Regions from separate parts of the Homo sapiens genome. Here all the other regions are linked to region 1. The links are contacts of gene promoters, found by promoter capture Hi-C in blood cells and fetal thymus (Javierre and others, 2016). All regions are on one chromosome and are shown on one strand. Each heading gives the region's core, a stretch centred on a gene start or on the middle of the fragment in contact. The rest is flanking DNA. Distances are from core to core; before and after follow the strand shown. Region 1 holds the start of TTF1 (transcription termination factor 1). Region 2 overlaps NUP214 (nucleoporin 214). Region 3 overlaps NUP214 (nucleoporin 214).

Evidence for each region. The method cuts DNA at HindIII sites, captures the fragments that hold promoters and counts their contacts. A CHiCAGO score of 5 or more calls a contact.
Region 2: a fragment that was not itself captured here is called in contact with the fragment with the promoter of TTF1 in region 1 in 2 of 17 cell types (M2 macrophages and monocytes); the score reaches 6.6 in M2 macrophages.
Region 3: a contact is called between a fragment that was not itself captured here and the fragment with the promoter of TTF1 in region 1, in 1 of 17 cell types (monocytes). The highest score is 6.5, in monocytes.

What each region holds. Positions count from the first base shown.
Region 1 is chr9:132,404,846-132,408,469 of GRCh38, reverse strand. It overlaps TTF1 (transcription termination factor 1), which reads left to right and starts at 1,630. Exons shown (of 11, transcript NM_007344.4): 1 at 1,630-1,680. The HindIII fragment of the contact is 5,870 bases long and covers 960-3,624 here.
Region 2 is chr9:131,142,811-131,146,434 of GRCh38, reverse strand. It overlaps NUP214 (nucleoporin 214), which reads right to left. Exons shown (of 36, transcript NM_005085.4): 12 at 1,681-2,155; 13 at 131-306. Among named protein-coding and RNA genes, the nearest start is that of NUP214, 19 kb to the right of the region's middle. RefSeq lists an enhancer at 1,707-2,208. The HindIII fragment of the contact is 1,959 bases long and covers 1,090-3,048 here.
Region 3 is chr9:131,164,405-131,168,028 of GRCh38, reverse strand. All of the region lies in intron 21 of NUP214 (nucleoporin 214), which reads right to left. Among named protein-coding and RNA genes, the nearest start is that of NUP214, 41 kb to the right of the region's middle. The HindIII fragment of the contact is 959 bases long and covers 1,567-2,525 here.

The DNA.
Region 1 (3,624 bases), core at 381-2,880:
AGAATCACCTGAAAAATATCTGTCAACACCATATTTAACCCTAAGTACGTCATCATGTAGCAAGGACATTCCCATGTGTAACTACAATGTCATTATCATGTCCGAAGATTTTAATGTGATACAATAGTGTTTAATATAAAATCCATTGCAAAGTTGAGACTCTGCATTTGAAAAAAAAAAAAAAAAGCTTCCCAGGTGATTGGTGCAGTTGGAGGAGGATTGGAAACCACTATTGGAGTTTTCCTGAATCGATACTGGATGATATCTAATCTCTCCTCTAGTGCCAGCCTTTTGTGGGTTCATTCATGCATCACTAGCACCACAAGGCTCTGGGTAAGTGGGGTCACCACAGAACACGTGACACCAATGACGGACCTGGACTTCAAGGCCTTCCATATCAACAGTGGACAACACCACATTTACAGACTTCTCCAGACGGAGCTCCAACTGCACGTCCACATCCCAGAGCAGCCCTTGCATGGCAACATGAGTACATACATAGGCTCATCGTTTCTCCAACCTGCTTCCCTTCCAGACTTTCACGGAAGCATAGTTTGTGCATTTTTTAATCAAAGCCACTTGGCAGATCACATAGAAGTCAGGTGGAACAGTGAGGGGCAAGATAGTGGAGTAGTAGAAAGAGCATAGGTCTGATTTCTGGCTGGCCCATTTAAGTCACCTTGGACAAGTTACTGTAAACCCAGGTTTCTCATCCACAAGGTGGGGCTAATAATACCTCATTACAAGGATTAAGTGAGAAAACTTGTTGCCTATATCGTATATGTTCACTATCCAAAAAGGTTAAACGTTTGGTTGGTAAATATAATGGCCTCGAATTGATGGCCAGGTTAAAGCTGCCCTTTTGGCTAAGTCTCTTCAGGACTCTGTTGAAATGGGAAGACTGGGATAGATCTCCAAAGCTCCTGCTAACTCTAAACTTCTGAGACTTCATCCAAGCTTAACATCCATCAGCCTCTGCACCAGATAGCCCCTGCAGACCTCTGACTTCCTCTCCCACCCCCTCCCCTGCATTCACATGCATTCACTTAGGCTGGGCGTGTGCGACCTGTCTGTCACCCTGTGGGTTCACTGTGTGGATTCACTCTGTGCTCCAGCTGCTCTGGCCTTGTCCCAGGTCCTCCAGCAACCAAGTTCAGGACTTTTGCACTCACTTCCAGCCTGGAACACTCTTCTGCCTAGATTTTTTGCCTGCCCTTTCCATTTAGAACTCAGTTCAAATGTCACCTCCTCAGTGAGCCCTCTCTTACATCTAAAGTAGCACCCACCGTCCCCTAGTCACTCTCCATCACGTCACCCTGTTTTATTTTCCTTACAAGATAATCTGAAATTATCTTAGTTGATTTGTCATCTGTCTTCCCAAGTTGTTCCTGGAGTTCACCAAAAACTGGAATAAATGGAATGCACGCATGCATTAGTACGTCAATGGAGGGGGATTCTGTCCTACTTTCTTCGTTTCAGGAGCACTCTCTACCCCACCTGACGTCTAAAGGACCCAGAAGGAAAATGGGTAGGCAAATGTGCGCGCCTCCAAGGCCTAGCGGCAGCCGTGTTACCATGGCAGCGTGACGCCGAGGGGGCCGGAAGGCGACGCACTACTACTTCCGCTTCCTCAACAGCAGCACTTCCGGGTTGGGAGAAAGGTGGCGGCGCTTTCGGAGGGTAAGTTGAAAGCGCCTTTGTTGTTTCTGTTTTTCAAAATGCGCGCGTAAAAACTCAGCGTGGGGTGGTGGGTTTCCCCGTCTTCTGGGAGACCCGCCTTTTGGCCTGAGGTCTCCAGGCCGCGGTCTTTGCCCCAGGCCTTATCTCGGGGAAACTGAGGCTTGGGTGTTTTTTTTTTTTTTTTTTAAAGATGGAGTTTTGCTCTTGTCGCCCAGGCTGGAGTGCGGTGGCGCGATCTCGGCTCACTGCAACCTCCGCTTCCTGGGTTCAAGCGATTCTCCTGCCTCAGCCTCCCGAGTAGCTGGGATTATAGGCGCCCGCCACCAAGCCTAGCTAATTTTTGTATTTTTAGTAGAGACAGGGTTTCACCATGTTGGCCAGGCTGGTCTCGAACTCCTGACTTCAGGTGATCCACCCGCCTCGGCCTCTCAAAGTGCTGGGATGACAAGCGTGAGCCACCGCGCCCGGCCGCGGCTTGGGTCTTTGGGAGTGAGAAGATGCAGAATTCACATCTGGTTAGTTCCTCCAGTCTCAGCCCTGGAGCGCCCACCCGGGAGCAGAGCGGGGTCTCTCTCGCACCCCAAAGGCGGTGAGAGAATCCGGGACCAGGTTTGGGCACGTACCTGCAGAGCGGGAAGTGTATGTTCTGAGTAAGGGGGGATAAATGCATATCCGTTCTCAATATGTATCGAGCACTGACTGGGGAGCCATTTGGGAGCAAGATGGCCAGGATTCCAGCCCTCAAGAAGCCGATCATATTATAACTGCCAAAAGTGCAATGGGGAGCAGCTGGTTGTTGGGAAACACTGTTAACCAGAAAGATGAGACCGGCTAAGGAGTTAGAGAGGTCCTCTTGAGAAAGTGGCTTTCATACTTGGACCAGTTAAAGGGCAGAAAGGTAATGCGGAGGAAGAGCTTTCCTGATGGAATGGGCTGTTTTTGCAAAGTTCCTGAGACGAAAAGGAAGGTAGTGTATTCTAGGAACTGAAAACAGCAGGGTTTCTGAAACCTAGAGAGAAGTGAGAGGTAGAGAGGTGGGCATGGACTTACCTCTGTCCATCTCTAGGCTAGATTATGAAGAAATGAAGACTCTTGCAGGTCTGTGAGGATTTTGACTTTATCTTAAGAATAACAGGGGAACCCTAAAAAGTTTTTAGCAGGGAGAGACTATATATTTAGAAGGTTGTACTGGGCTCCAGAGACCAGAGAGCAGCCTAGGAAGTATTTACAAAAAAGAAGGAAAGGAACTGATGGAAGGGGAAATGTTATTTAAAGAAATCAAGGCCGGGCGCTGTGGCTTACGCCTGTAATCCCAGCGCTTTGAGAGGCCGAGGCAGGTGGGTCACCTGAGGTCAGGAGTTCAAGACCAGCCTGGCCAACATGGCGAAACCCCGTCTCTACTAAAAATACAAAGATTAGCCAGGCTTGGTGGCTTGCGCCTGTAATCCCAGCTACTACTCCGGAGGCTGAGGCAGGAGAATCGCTTGAACCCGGGAGGCGGAGGTTGCAGTGAGCCGAGATCGTGCCACTGCACTCCAGCCTGGGTGACAGAACGAGATTCTGTCTCCAAAAAAAGAAAAAGAAAAAAAGAAAAGAAAAGAAATCAGCCAGTGGGTGGCTCACGCCTGTAATCCCAGCACTTTGGGAGGCCGAGGCGGTTGGATCACAAGGTCAGGAGATCGAGACCATCCTGGCTAACACGGTGAAACTCCGTCTCTACTAAAAAATACAAAAAAATTAGCCTGGCGTCGTGGCGGGCACCTGTAGTCCCAGCTACTCGGGAGGCTGAGGCAGGAGAATGGCGTGAACCCGGGAGGCAGAGCTTGCAGTGAGCTGAGATCACGCCACTGCACTCCAGCCTGGGCGACAGAGCAAGACTCCGTCTCAAAAAAAAAAGAAAAAAAAGAAATAATCGGCTTTGCTCTGTTTGTGATTTATTAAGAG
Region 2 (3,624 bases), core at 820-3,319, 1.3 Mb after region 1:
ATTAATGTATGATACAGGAAGCAAGAAAAAATAACCTTGTCCAACTATGTTAGCTACGACTCTTAACACTTAAAACCGTTAATCTGAGAAGGCAGGGCTGAGGTCTAAAGTTGTCTGCTTAAAATCATACCTGATGGTGAGGGCAAGACTGAGGACTTCAATGGCACGGAACTAGGTGGTGCTGAGAGAGGTGTGGGGTGGCTGAGTGGTCCAGAAGCAGCTGGCTTGGAGGCAGAAGAGAATGGCGACATCGGGGGTGCGCTCTGGGAGCTACTAACAGGAGTAGAGGTAGCTGCAGCAGTAAACCTGAAAAATGGCAGCCTGAAGGCCTCAGAAGAGCCTGCTAGAAGATTCTTTTACACTAGCATGAGCAATGTCATCAAAAGATAACTTATTATCTTTTATGTTAACTTACAAAGATAACATACTTTTTGCCTTCAGGAAACAAAAATGTTTAGCTATTTCTTATAAAAGGTGAAAGCTGCAAGGAAACATTTATCTTTTCGTCTGCTTATTTAGGAATTAATTATTCAGGGGAAATATCAAAACTAAGTTTATCACAATATGAAATACCAAGTTTATCATGATATGAAATACTATTGTTTCCAGCTGAGTTTTAAACAGGAGGTGGGACACAATTATGCTTAGGAGAGTTAGTACTTTCTCTTACCAAGGAAATTACTGAGAACTCGTTTTGAGAGTGAGCACCTTCTCTGGGGAGTGAAAAAGGAAGAGGAATGCAGGGAACTGTCTTTGGGATACTTATGGCCTAAAGGAAATGTAAAGTCGGTTCCACCTAAAGAGCAAAAGTCTGTAGACAATCTAAACTCCAGCATTAGATGACTGGTCAGATAAACTGTGGTGCAGTCAACAAAATGGAACACTATGCAACCCTTAGCATGAAGTGGATGTGTGCCAATTCAGTATTAACAGTAACTGTGGTGGCAGCAGCACCACCATAGCAACAACAGATAGTACAGGCAAGTAGGGAAAAAGCTGGTAGTACTTATACTCGATGGTTATCTTGGGAACTCATGGTTATCTTGGGAGGGGTTACAAGATATAAGGGATTGCTTCCCTCCAAAAGCTTACATTCTAGTGGGAAGAAAAGAACAAGATAAAGAAGTAAATAAATAAGAAATGAGTGAGCTGCCCGACCCAGATCTGGAGGAAACTGGATACCAACCTAAGAATTAGCAGTGAGCAGCCACGGGGCTTCATAGGGACTGTCAAGCAGAAGAATCACCTAACAATTTACAGTGTCACAAGATGACTTTGTGGCTGTGTAGACAGCAGTTCAGAGAGAGTTAAGGGTAGACACAGGGAGGAAAAAAGACTACAAGGGATTCATTTCCCTTCCAGGATGCATACTCTGGATTGCTTCTTTTTTTAAAATAAGGAATATTTCCTACATTTGTAACGTAAAAAAGCAAAACAAATACCTGAATATAAATCCCATAGTCAAAAAAATAAAATGCTAGCTAAGAGACCCTTCTGGACTCTATTCACTGATGAAATGCCAGTATTTTATGTTGGTTGAATTTTTGCCATTTGCAAGTATCACTCTGGGTAAAAAAATTCTACTCAGTTAACTCCTCTCAGAGTGACTCTACTTTTAGTAAATAACATCCAATATTTCTACCCAACTCACAGAAGAATCAAACTTTAGAAGTGACTTACTTTTCACTAAGGTTGACTTTGACAGCAGAGGTTGAGGGTGGGAAGGAGGGCTTCATTGCTATATTTGGAGCAGACACACTTGGCACTGGTGTGCTTTCCAGGGTAGGCTTAAAACCAGATGATCCAAAGGAGAATGAAGCAGCTGATGGAGCCACAGGAGACGCTGCAGGGGTGGGGGCTAGGGAGGCTTTAGAAGGGGGAACAAAAGAGAAGGTTGATGGGCCAGGGCCTGGGGCTGCTTTGGAGCTGTCGGAGCCACTGGAATATGAAGGGGGCTCCCCAGTGACCGTAGCAGATGACTTCAAAGATGAAGAACCAAAGGAGAACACAGTGGGGGCTCCACCAGCAGGAAGCAAAGAAAAAGTGGCAATGGGAGCAGCAGGTGATGAAGGTGGCAGAGAGGCAGGGGCTGCAGCTGCAGAAGCATCCAGTTTCTGTGGGGCTTGAGAGGAGGTTGGGGTAGTGGGAGTACTTCCTGCAGTGACAAAAAAAGGAAGGAAAATGTTAACACTGTAACAGTGGAGGTTCACATAATAGAAAGCAAGTGAAAAAGAATTTGTGGTAGAATAAAGCCAGAAATGTTACTAGTTTAAGAAGCAAAAAGAACACATGGGTACACAGTTCATGTTGGAGTTTTCAGGTCTCATGAGATAAATGAAACTGAAGGAAAACTAAGGAAAGACATTAGAATAATTGGACTTCATGGACTTCTCAGTGCTACTATGGCACACAAAACAGTTCAGTCACTGCAACATTTCATTAACAACCAGGAAAAAGTTTTAATTCAGACCTCCACCTTATTTCACTAAAAGTAATTCCAGATAAATACACATAGAAAGTCACATAAATACAGGTATCTCAAAACAAAGGAGGCAAATTGATAGATATGTTAGGTCTCAGAATCTAACACCTTGATAAATTTAGAAGTGACCAAAAAAAAAACAATCGCAAAGGGAGAAGGTTAAGATTTGTGTAAAAAATAGCTACTCAGGTACAATAACTAAATGGTAATGAACTAAAAAAAAAGATCCATAGCAAATGACAAATAAGATGTTTTCTATTTTTTAAAAAGCTCATACAAATTGAGATTTTAAAATTTCAGGACTAATAAACAGGGAAACTAACTCACATAAAGAAAACACATTCAATCTCTCTAATCAAAGAAATATAAACAAGGTACATTTTTAATTTGTCCTCTAAATTATAAGAATTTAAATATGTCTAACCCCTTATGTTTGGATGGGTAAAACAAACCTGAAACTTTTTATCACTGGTAGGTAACTAGTATTTTTTTTAAGAAAACATTTTGGCATTGTATAAAAAACTGTAAAAAACAGACCCAGTAATTTCTCTTCTAAGAATAAAGCTTACAAACATAATGCAAAAAATGAAAAAGATATTTAATGCAATCCAAATGGTTAAAAAGAAAAAAAAAAGTCAATGGAAGGCTGGGCGCAGTGGCTCATGCCTGTAATCCCAGAGCTTTGGGAGGGCAAAGCAGGAGGACCCTTTGAGTCCAGGAGTTTGAGACCAGCCTGGGGAACAAAGTGAGACCCTGTTGCTACAAAAAAAATACAAAAATCAGCCAGGTGTGATGGCTTGTGCCTGTAGTCCCAGCTACTTGGGAGGCTGAGGTGGGAGGATCGCTTGGACTTGGGAGACAGAGGCTGCAGTGAGCCAAGATCCTGCCACTACACTCCAGCCTGCACAACAGAGTGAGACCCCTGTCTCAAAAATGAATAATTTTTTTTTCTATTTTCCAAACTTTCCATAAGGTAAAAATATTAATCTTTAAATTAAATAACCAACTAAATAAGAAAAGAATTCTTTGTGTCAATATTTTCTATTTATATTAATAGGACTTGGTTGTTCCAAATTAGCTAAGATGGCAGTTTATCTTCATGGAAGACACTTTGTCTAATGCAACGTAATACTTAGATACAA
Region 3 (3,624 bases), core at 797-3,296, 1.2 Mb after region 1:
CCTATAGTCCCAGCTACTCAGGAGGCTGAGGCAGGAGGATCGCTTCAGCCACGGAGGTTGGGGCTGCAGTGAGCTATGACTGCACCACTACACTCCAGCCTGGGCAACAGAGCAAGAGTCTGTTTCTAAAAACAAAAACAAAAACGAACTTCTGTTCACCAAGACATAATTAAGAGGACAAAAAGGCAAAGTGAGTATCTGCAACTCACAAAACCAACAAAGGCTGGTCTCCAGAATTGATAAAAACATGTACAAATCAATAAGACAGAGTATTCAATAATAAATGAATGAGCAAAAGATTTAATTCGGTACTCCACAAAAGAACATATCCAAATGGTTAAAACATTTTACAAAAGAGTCCTACCAGAATAGTTAAAAGAAAAAAGACCGACAATATCAAGTTTGGCAAAGATGTGGAACAACTGTAACACTCATTTACTGATGATAAAGTACAACCACTTAGTAAAACCGCCTGGCAGAGTCTATGAAAGCTGAGCATATGGACAGACTATGAGCCAACAATGCCACTCCTAGCTATGTAACCAAATGAAAAGTACACATGTGCTCCGAGAGACACACACGGGAATATTCAGAACCTTTTCTGTAATAGCTATAAACTGAAAGCAGCACATGTCCAACAGGAAAATGAATAAACAAATACAGCATATTCATACAATAGAATCCTATACAGAGCAACTAAAATAACAGCTAGAGGCAACAACACGGATGGATCTTACAAGCCTGATGTGGAACAAGAGAAGCCTGTCCAGAGACTAAGTGAATGGATTTATGTGGTATGCAAAAACAGGCAAAACCAAATCATAGTGTTTTGGGAGGTATGCTTACATAGTAAAGCTCTGAAGGAAAACAAAGAAAAGGCGACTAAAGAGAATGACAACTTACACAATGCAGAATCCTGGATTGGATCCTAGATCCAATCAACGTGTAGGGGTAAGTGGGACAGCCGGCAAAATTTGAGTATCAACTGTATATGAGATAACTGTATACGTTAAATTTCCTGAACCTGCAAACTGTATTATGGTGTGTAAGAGAGCACCTTTGTTCTTGGGAGGACACATGCTGAAATATTTAGGAATAAGGGGCGTTGTCTTCAGCTTATTCTCAGATAGTTCAGCAACAATTGTGGCAAACAGTAGTAAACATATGGGTGAGGGGTAAGTGGGTGCTTACTGTACTCGCAATTGGAAGTTTCAATTTTTTCAAAATAATAAATTAAAAATAACAAAAAATGTCAAATTAAAAAAAAAAGGCAAAGGCAAAACTCTCACATAAGCCCATATAATCGTGCCTTAGGGGAAGAAGGAAAACTGGGGTATGCAAGAGGGCTTCTAAAAAACGGCAATATTCTGTTTCTTGACCTGGGTAGAGGCTACAGGGATATACGTTTTTGTTTTGTGCACTTAATGTGTGTTGTTTTTCACAATTTTAAAAATTCAAAGTGTTTACATGCTGAGTTATTCTTCCCAGCATGCCCACTAACATTAAATGAGTATCATGTGCAGTTATCTGCTTAATGTCTGAATTCCTCCTCTTAAATGAAAAGCTTCATGTGGGCAGAGACCATGTTTCTCTTATTTACCACTGATTGGAACAAACTAGGCAATCATATTTATTGAATGAATGAATAAGTAAATTACATAAATCTCACTTGTAAGGACTCTATCTAAATATATAATCTGATGTGGGCTAAAGATTTGTGAACAAAGACGTTCTGAGAAAATTTTGGCAACAAGATTAGCAACAGGCATTATGGCCTTCTAATACAAGGAAATATTGTGCTGTCTTTATAAGGCATGTGTTCAAAGAATATTTAAACACAGAAGGCAGAGGAAAAGGTTAAGATTTTAAGTTTAAATCTTTTTTCCAATTTTTAAAATTTGGTAAAATGTAACATAAAATTTACCATCTTAAGTGTTTTAAAGTACACAGTTCATTGGTATTAAGTACATTCACATTGTTGTGTAATCATCACCACCATCCATCTCCAGAACTATTTTCCCTGTGCAAAACTGAAACTCTATACCCATTAAATAATAACTCCCCATGACCCCCCACCTCAGTCCTTCAGGCAACCCCTATTCTTGTTTCCATCTCTATGAATTTGATGTCTCTAGATACTTCATATAAGTGGAATCATACAGTATTTGTCTATTTGAGGACACTTAGCACAATGTCCTCAAGGTTCACTTATATTGTAACATGTGTCAAAAATTCCTTTTTAAAGACTGAATAATATTCCATTGTATAGACAGACATTTTGTTTATCCATTCATTCATTAACAGACACACTGTTTCCACCTCTTGGCTATTACCAATAATGCTGTCATGAGCATGGATACAAAAGTATCTCTTTGAAACCTTATTTTCAATTATTTGGGGTATATACCCAGAAGTGAAATTGCTGGATCATCCAGTAATCACATTTTTAATTTTTTGAGGAACCACCAAACTGTTTTCTACAGTGGCTTTACCATTTCACATTCCCACCAATAGTGCACAAAGCTTCCATTTTTTCCATATCTTCACCACCAGCATTTATTTTGTTTAATAGTAAGGGCTCATGAATTTTAAATTAGAAAAAAATCAAGACACAAAACTGTTATAATCTCAATTTCATTTTAAAATAAATCAGATTTACATATGCAAAGAAAAAAGTTTGGAACTAAACCAAAATAACTAAGTGAGGCCATATCTGGGTTGAGAGAGAGTAATTTTTTAACTTTTTAATTTTTTTTAGAGATTCTGTTGCTCAGGCTGGAGTGCAGTGGCATGACCATAGCTCACTGCAGCTGCAGGCTCAAGCAACCCTCCTGCCTCAGCCACCTGAAGAGCTAAGATTACAGGTGCATGCCACCGCACTCAGCTAATATTTTTTATTCTCCTTTATACTTTCCATATTTTTCCCAATTACCTACCAAGAGAATGTATTCTTTAGGTAAAGAAAAATTATTTGAAAATTAACTTGTCTGTGACTATTATTTATCTAATTTAGCTCTATGTGAGTACAGAAAAATAAATCAGTAAGATTAAATTTCTTTCAGTTATTCTGATTACCAAAAGCATTTGTTATTGGCATAAAAAAATTTTAACTGAAAACAGAATCTCAAAGAAAAATTTGGATATGGATACTAAAACAAAGCAGTTATGCCTAAAATTGTCACAAATTTTTCTTTAAATTGAAGTTATTATCTAGGTAATGTAATGGGAAAAAAATTTATGGCTTCTTTAAGCAAGTATTTTTAAGTAAGTATTTTTAATCAACATTGCTTAATCTTATTTTTTTCTTCTTTTTTCATAAAAGAAGCCTTTTTCGGCAAGGCACAGTGGCTCATACCTGTAATCCCAGCACTCTGGGAGGCTGAGGCAGGAGGATAACTTGAACCCAGGAGTTTGAGAACAGCCTGGGCAACATGGGGAGACCTCGTCTTTTATTTTTTTCTATTATTTATTTATTTTTTAAAATGCCTTTTTCCCAGATGCAAACTTACTCAAAACCCAACACAAATCAGAAAAGTAAACCTTCTCTGGCTAAAGCAGAGGCTAGGATCCAGCTCAGCCTATCTCAAACCCTTGTGAATCAGTGCCATAAAACTTGAGGACTGC